2 separate regions of the Homo sapiens genome follow, and region 2 is linked to region 1. Evidence: promoter capture Hi-C in human tissues and cell types (Jung and others, 2019). All regions are on one chromosome and are shown on one strand. Each heading gives the region's core, a stretch centred on a gene start or on the middle of the fragment in contact. The rest is flanking DNA. Distances are from core to core; before and after follow the strand shown. Region 1 holds the start of DLX2 (distal-less homeobox 2). Region 2 overlaps CYBRD1 (cytochrome b reductase 1).

What was found. The method cuts DNA at HindIII sites, captures the fragments that hold promoters and counts their contacts. A contact is called where the count stands out against the background at its distance.
Region 2: a fragment that was not itself captured here is called in contact with the fragment with the promoter of DLX2 in region 1 in 1 of the 25 tissues and cell types used here (lymphoblastoid cells).

The regions. Positions count from the first base shown.
Region 1 is chr2:172,101,070-172,105,006 of GRCh38, reverse strand. DLX2 (distal-less homeobox 2) reads left to right here and starts at 2,107. Exons shown (of 3, transcript NM_004405.4): 1 at 2,107-2,868; 2 at 3,361-3,545. The coding sequence starts at 2,469. It overlaps DLX2-DT (DLX2 divergent transcript), which reads right to left and starts at 2,001. Exons shown (of 5, transcript NR_126376.1): 1 at 1,739-2,001; 2 at 975-1,069. RefSeq lists a silencer at 2,106-2,305. The HindIII fragment of the contact is 12,259 bases long and covers 1-3,937 here.
Region 2 is chr2:171,535,644-171,539,580 of GRCh38, reverse strand. The region is part of intron 1 of CYBRD1 (cytochrome b reductase 1); the gene reads right to left. Among named protein-coding and RNA genes, the nearest start is that of CYBRD1, 15 kb to the right of the region's middle. The HindIII fragment of the contact is 4,986 bases long and covers 1-3,937 here.

The sequences.
Region 1 (3,937 bases), core at 858-3,357:
GGCCAGGCTGGTCTCGAACTCCTGACCTCAGGTGATTTGCCCGCCTTGGCCTCCCAAAGTGCTGGGATTACAGGTGTGAGCCACCGTGCCCAGCAGGCGGTTGGATTTTTAAAATTGTCTTTTTCAGGGAATTTTTTTTCTACATTAGATCAAAGCAGCTACCACTGTGGTGACAGAAAGAGTTGGAATTTGAAGTCAAAACACCAAAAGGCGGGCAGATCACGAGGTCAGGAATTCGAGACCAGCCTGACCAACATGGTGAAACCCCATCTCTACTAAAAATACGAAAATTAGCCGGGAGTGGTGGCGCGCGCCTGTAATCCCAGCTACTTACGAGGCTGAGGCAGGAGAATCGCTTGAACCCAGGAGGTGGAGGTTGCAGTGAGCCAAGATGGCGCCACTGCACTCCAGCCTGGGTGACAGAGTGAGACTCCGTCTCAAAAAAACAAAAACAAACAAAAAAACACCAAAAGGCAATCATGTTTCAATATCAAGAGGTTGGTTTTGCAGCTGAGGCCCACAAAGTAGGCAGAGAACCGCATAAAGCAATGCAGGTGGGTGGAGGTGAGCTCCACCTCCAACGTTTCTCATAAGCTGGCGCTTTCCATCTAGGGGCCTTCCTTAACCAAAAAAAAGCTGGGAACTAAATCCAGGTAGACTTAAAGGCGCATTACCTATCTCATTATTTCTCTGTGTGAATGCTGGAGTTTTAATTACACACTTGCTTTTTATGGGGAAGAAGACCAAAGATCATATTTTTGAAGGTATCAACTTGTTTTCTATCAGACAGTTGTTTTAACAAGTTCTTTCAGCGACATGTTATGTCTTTAGGAAAGGGTGCTTCAGATGGTGCGCACTAGCACAATTTTGTGGCTTTTAATTACTATTTTGTTCTTTTGGGGGGTTTCAGAGGCTGGCGCCTGGGCGTGATTAGACCGTCTACCCCGCCCCCCGCAACCTCGCACACTGCCCACCAGGTGGCGCCACAAAGCAAGCGCTGCCGCAGGAACTTCGGACTTGGGAGTCCAGCAAGTCGTGCAGTCCATCACCGTCGGGCCAAGGTTTCCAACTACAAGGTTATAGAGACAGAGGAAGTCACCATTTCCGATTTTTTAAAAAACAGAGGGAAAAGAAAAAAATTGCAATGATAGGGTAGAACAGGGTCCTAAAATGCAAAACTGTAAAACAGGATTAAATTCAACAAACCAGATAAAACTTTTTATATTTGTTGTAAATTTACAGAGAAGTGATAAATCTAGTATCTACTTGATAAATCTATAATCTCACCTATTATCCTATTTCCTTTTTCGCAAGAGCATCGAATTTTCAAGGACAACTGGTGAACCTTTCCACCCGAAGGAGGAAGTCCTCGGGATGGCTTTCAGGGTGTCATTTACTTATCAAACGTATATAATTACTCAGAGTCTCGCGTGTCGGGAAAGTACCAGGGAAAGTGGTTTCAAATATACTATTAGCAATAATACCTTTAAGTTTATGTAGCTTCTCTTTGAAGCAACAAGGAAAACCCGTTTCAATATTATATGATTAATTGTCCTAATATCCCTGCGGATTGGTTAAGAAGCGAGCATTACACGTGGTTTGTGGATAATTAAATCAATTGATTATGTCAAGTGCCGAGTGGCTAACAAGAATAAATGCCAGACACTTCGAGGAAAAGTGAAGATAGAGCTGGCTGGACTCTGGGCACCGATGTACTTTAATGTGTTTGAAAACTGACCTCGGACATGAAAGTACGAATCACTGGAACTGGCACTTGCTCACAGAATGGGAGAGGGGACCCCACTTCTTCCTCTGAGGCAAAACGCCAGTCTGTCTCCACGCCTTCTGTCTTCCTGCTGCGGGCCACCCTGACTCCTCGCTACCTCGACCCCTCGCCTCGCTGCTCACATTCGGCGGCAGTCTGTTTGCACCTGGGGCCGCTGCAGCCGCAGCCGCAGCCACAGCGCCCACCATGTGACGCCCGCCCCTTGGCCGGGCGTTCCCGGAGCTCCGCGGCCGTTTGCTTCTGATTGGCTGTTGCTAGGTGACGTCGCCAGCGCTCACGTGACGAGTGTTAAATGCCCACACTTCAGGAGCCCGCCTGGCAGACAATCGTAAAGCCGCTCGGGGCCGCTCACCTGCTCCCGCCTCCCAGAGCCCCGACCCGGCCCAGCCACCCCTGCCCCCTCCACTGCCCGCCCCCCGCCAGAGCCCGCGCTCGCGCTGGGCAAGGAGCCGAGCGGGCCCAGAGGCCGAAAGAGGATGCGACCAGAGGCAGCTGTCCCGAGCAGCGCACGGTGATCGCCTCCCCCGGAGGAGGAGGCGCCTAGACGGTTGCCTCCTTTCTTGTTTCCCCACCACCACCCCCGTAATTACATTGGCTGCTGGAGGGGACCGGGAGAGACAGAGGAGGCGCCTGGCTTCCCCCGCACGCCCGCCACCTCTGCTCTTTCCCGTCTCGGGCCAGGATGACTGGAGTCTTTGACAGTCTAGTGGCTGATATGCACTCGACCCAGATCGCCGCCTCCAGCACGTACCACCAGCACCAGCAGCCCCCGAGCGGCGGCGGCGCCGGCCCGGGTGGCAACAGCAGCAGCAGCAGCAGCCTCCACAAGCCCCAGGAGTCGCCCACCCTTCCGGTGTCCACCGCCACCGACAGCAGCTACTACACCAACCAGCAGCACCCGGCGGGCGGCGGCGGCGGCGGGGGCTCGCCCTACGCGCACATGGGTTCCTACCAGTACCAAGCCAGCGGCCTCAACAACGTCCCTTACTCCGCCAAGAGCAGCTATGACCTGGGCTACACCGCCGCCTACACCTCCTACGCTCCCTATGGAACCAGTTCGTCCCCAGCCAACAACGAGCCTGGTATGCATAACGCTGAAGTCAAGAGTGCCGAGTCGGTCTAGTTAATGGGATGGATGGGTAAACGTGTTTGGGGCGGGGGGCCTTCGAAAGCTCTGGATTTTCACGCTGCCTGCTCACCGCCCGCTTGTGCCCTTTACCCTCCCCAGCCTCCAATCTGCCGCAGGTCGCCGGTTACGTCCCTCTCTCCTTTGGTAGGACCTGGTGGCCTCAAGAGCCAAGTGGGCGTGCTCTGCCTGCCTCATAAGGGCATCTCCTTGCCACCAGCTTCTTTCTCTTGGGTGTGCACTTGTCTCCCCCTTCCCTGGAGGGTACAGCTCCCGGGGTCGGTGGCGGCTCCGATCGCACGCTGCGAAGTTGCGCCTGCCCGTGGCGCCACAGTTCAGTGCACCCACCTCTTTGCTCAAGCCAAGTCCCCCCCGCCGGGCCCTCTAGGAGGGCGGGAACTCCAGGACCCCTGGGTTGCGCTGTTCTTACGATTCTTTATCGTTGCAGAGAAGGAGGACCTTGAGCCTGAAATTCGGATAGTGAACGGGAAGCCAAAGAAAGTCCGGAAACCCCGCACCATCTACTCCAGTTTCCAGCTGGCGGCTCTTCAGCGGCGTTTCCAAAAGACTCAATACTTGGCCTTGCCGGAGCGAGCCGAGCTGGCGGCCTCTCTGGGCCTCACCCAGACTCAGGTGGGGCTCGCGCCCTGCAGGGGCGAGGAGAGCGCGGGCCTGAGATGGCTGGGAAGCAGGCGGGTTTAGGACAATGCTTTTTAAAGTTCATTTTAAGTACTTTTAAGGATTTCCAGGCCTGCGCCTCGAGCGGCCCTAAGTAAGCTTCTAGGCCCAAAGCTGGAAACCCCCAAGGGGCCGCCGTGGGAGGGAAGGAAAGGGACCGGGTGGACAGAAATCCCGTACCTCTCGCTACTGATTAAGCGGGTGAAATAACTGGCCCTCCTCACCCTCCCGCTGTCACCATCATCACAGTGCACGTACACCAGCAGTCCTGGCCTTTTGGCAATTACCTCCCCAGGGAGCAGGAACCGGCAGAGCCTCGAAGGCCGCCGCCCGTGATCCTCTTATCT
Region 2 (3,937 bases), core at 875-3,374, 570 kb after region 1:
TTTAGATATCTGGAAATGTGTGGCAGATTGAAAAAGTTTATAGAATACTTCCTCAGACGATGGATTCCACTATATCAGCAGGGTATCACGTATATTTCTTTTCTTTTCTTTCTCTGTCACCCAGGCTGGAATGTAGTGTTGCGATCACAGCTCACTGCAGCCTTGACCTCCTGGGACCAGGTGATCCTCCCACCTCAGTCTCCTGAGTAGCTGGGGCTGCAGGCATGCACCACCACACGCTGCTATTTTTTCTATTTTTAGCAGAGATGGGATTCCATCATGTTGCCCAGGCTGGTCTTGAACTCCTGGGCTCAAGTGCACCACCCGCCTCAGCATCCCAAAGTGCTGGGATTACAGGCATGAACTACAGTGCCTGGCCTCATGTACATTTCTTAATTCCAGAAAATAAAAAGGAGCCTCACTTCACCAAAGGCTTTTATAATTTTAATATATAAAACTTCAGGCCAGGCGCAGTGGCTCACTGCGCTCAGTGAGCCACTCGGTGCTGTAATTTCAGCACTTTGGGAGGCCAAGGCAGGTGGATCACCTGAGGTCAGGAGTTCGAGACAAGCCTGGCCAACATAATGAAGCCCAGTCTCTACTAAAGATACAGAAATTAGCCGGGCGTGGTGGTAGGCACCTGTAATCCCAGCTACTTGGGAGGCTGAGGCAGGAGAATCGCTTGAACTCGGGAGGCGGAGGTTGCAGTAAACCAAGACCGCACCATTGCACTCCAGCCTGGGCAACAGAATGAGACTCTGTCTCAAAAAACAAACAAACAAACACCCAAGAACTTCATAGGATTATAAAAATATAAGGGATTATCTATTCCTTTTTCAGACAGAAACACATCTAAACCTACAAAGACCGATGTGAATTCAGCCTCTTTAAAGCTTTCAGCACAGGATGTCATTTTTCCTATTCTTTGGTTCCATTCTAACACTTAACAGTCCTCACCATTAGGACAATATTTCTTTTACTTAATCCCAACCCTGAAGGACTGCTACTTACTAAATTTAGTGTGTATATGGGTATCCTATGAATGTCGATTGGTTATACTTCCTTGAGAACGTGGAGACTTTTTGGATAATCATTTCTATATTCAAGGAATCTTTTCAAATGATTTAATGCAATACCTTAAAAAGTACACTTTTAAAGCAAACTCAAGGCCCCCTCTCACCCCTACTTCATCTTCTCTGAGGGCGTTAATGTGTCTTGCTGGTTCTCCACTGTATCCCCAGAGCCTAAGGCAGCCCTGGACTCAAAGCATGTAGCTCCTCCATAAGTATTTTTTAAATCTCTGTATTTTTCTTTTTGAGATGGAGTTTCATTCTTGGTTGCCCAGGATGGAGTGCAATGGTGCGATCTCAGCTCACTGCAACCTCGACTTCCTGGGTTCAAGAGATTCTCCTGCCTCAGCCTCCTGAGTAGCTGGGAATACGCGCCCAGCTAATTTTTGTATTTTTAGTAGAGACGGAGTTTTGCCATGTTGACCAGGCTGATCTTGAACTCCTGACCTCAGGTGATCCGCCCACCCTGGCCTCCCAAAGTGCTGGGATTACAGGTGTGAGCCACTGTGCCTGGCCTAAAATTTTAACTTGACATATAATAATTGTACATATTTATGCGGTACATAGTAATGTTTCAAAACATACAATGTATAGTGATCAGATCAAGGTAATTAGCATATTTATCACCTCAAACTCTTTTCTTTTTGTTGAAAACATTCAATATCCTCTCTTTTAGCTACTTGAAAGCATATAGCATATTATTGTTAACTCTAGTCGTCCTACAGTGCTATATAGAACACTAGAACTTATTTTTTAAACTATTTTGAGATTATCATAGATTCACAAGCAGTTGTAAGAAACAGTACAGAGAAATCTCATATACTCTTCACCCAGTTTTCTCTAACACCTTATATAACTATGGTACCATAGCACAACCAGGAAATTGACATTGATACAATCCTCTGACCTTATTCAGGTTTTTTTAAAATTTACTTATTTTTTATTTTTTTCTCTCCCTCCTCCTCCATCCCTTATTCAGATTTCACTAGGTTACTTGTGTGTATGTGTGACCCATAAGTATTGTTTAAATAAACAAACACAAAGCACTTTCTACAGACTGATCAAATCTGGAAACTAAATTGATGTCAACTCAAACACTGTGGTTTCCCCTCCTCATGCTTTTTCTCCTCTAAGCAGACCCTACATAATTCTTTAGTTTCCTGGGAAAGCAAATGCCTCTTTACCCAATGACCTAGTGAACTTTTATCTACAAAGTGGAGCCTTCTGCAATCTGTGTGTGATCACGCAATAGTAAAATAAAAATGTGCGATATATGAAGACCTAATAACACATCTCCCCCTTGCCTGTGTTGGGCTCATTTATTACACACACACGCACACATACACAGACACACAAACACACACACACAATTGAGTCCTTGCTAGGTAGTAGGTACCATCTAAGTGCTTCACAGTTTCATTATAATTCTCACCTCAACTCTGTGAAGATAGAATTATTATTACTATTGTACAGAGGAAGCTGAGGCAGAGAGGTTAAGTAGTTTGTCCCTCCTCAATTCATGGTTTAAAATTAATATTGTTGTTTTTTTGTTATCATCATCACCATCACATTATGCAAACACCACTCCGGGTAAGGAGTCTTAGATGAGTGAACTTGAACATCTACATACAGAAAAAAAAAATACTCAGGATTTCAACACTCGAAAAGCAAATTATGAACAATGAACCACAGTAGCATTTTCTCCCCAATCTGGATCATATTATATCAAAAATTCCCAAAATAAAAACTCATCTCTGATATTAAAAGTCAAGAGTAGGCTGGGCGCAGTAGCTCACACTTGTAATCCCAGCACTTTGGGAGGCTGAGGCAGGCAGATCATTTGAGGTCAGGAGTTCAAGACTAGCATGGCCAACATGGTGAAACTCTGTCTCTGCTAAAAATACAGGCTGGGCGTGGTGGCTCATGCCTGTAATCCCAGCACTTTGGGAGGCCAAGGCGGGTGGGTCACTTGAAGTCAGGAGTTTGAGACCAGCCTGGCCAACATGGTGAAACCCCGTCTCCACTAAAAACACAAAAATCAGCTGGGCATGGTGGTGCATGTCTGTAATCCCAGCTGCTTGGGAGGCTTGAGGCAGGAGGATCGCTTGAACCCGGGAGGCGGAGGTTGCAGCGAGCAGAGATAATACCACTGCACTCCAGCCTGGGCAACAGAACCAGACTCTGTCTCAAAAAAACCCAAAAAATTAGCTGGGCATGGTAGCATGTGCTTATAATCCCAGCTACTTGGGGAGACCGAGGCAAGAGAATCGCTTGAACCCGAGAGGCAGAGGTTGAGGTAAGCTGAGATCGCACCATTGCACTCCACCCTGCCTGGGTGACACAGCAAGACACTGTCTCAAAAAAAAAAAAAAAAAAAGAGTAACTATCATGATATCATGACTCAAAGGAGTTACAAGGGTTGCTGGGGGGGTTCTGATGTGCACAGAATATTGCTTCTTGTTCTGGGTACCCGGATGTGTGCATGTGATAAACACACATCCCTTCCGATTTAGGTACTTTTATGCATGTATGTTGTTCTTCAGTAAAAAGTTTACTTTTAGAAAGTGTGGGGGCCAGGCACAGCGGCTCATGCTTGTAATCCCAGCACTTTGGGAAGTCAAAGTGGGTAGACTGCTTGAGCCCAGGAGTTCAAGACCAGCTTGGGCAACCCAGTGAAACCTCATCTCTACAAAGAAATACAAAAATAAACCACACCTGGCAGTGTGTGCCTATAGTCCCAGCTACTCAGCAGGCTGAGGCAGGAGGATTGCTTGAGCCCAGGAGGTGGAGGTTGTAGTGAGCTGAGATCGAGCCACTGCACTCCAGCCTGGACAACAGAGCAAGACTCTGTCTCAAAAATAAATAAA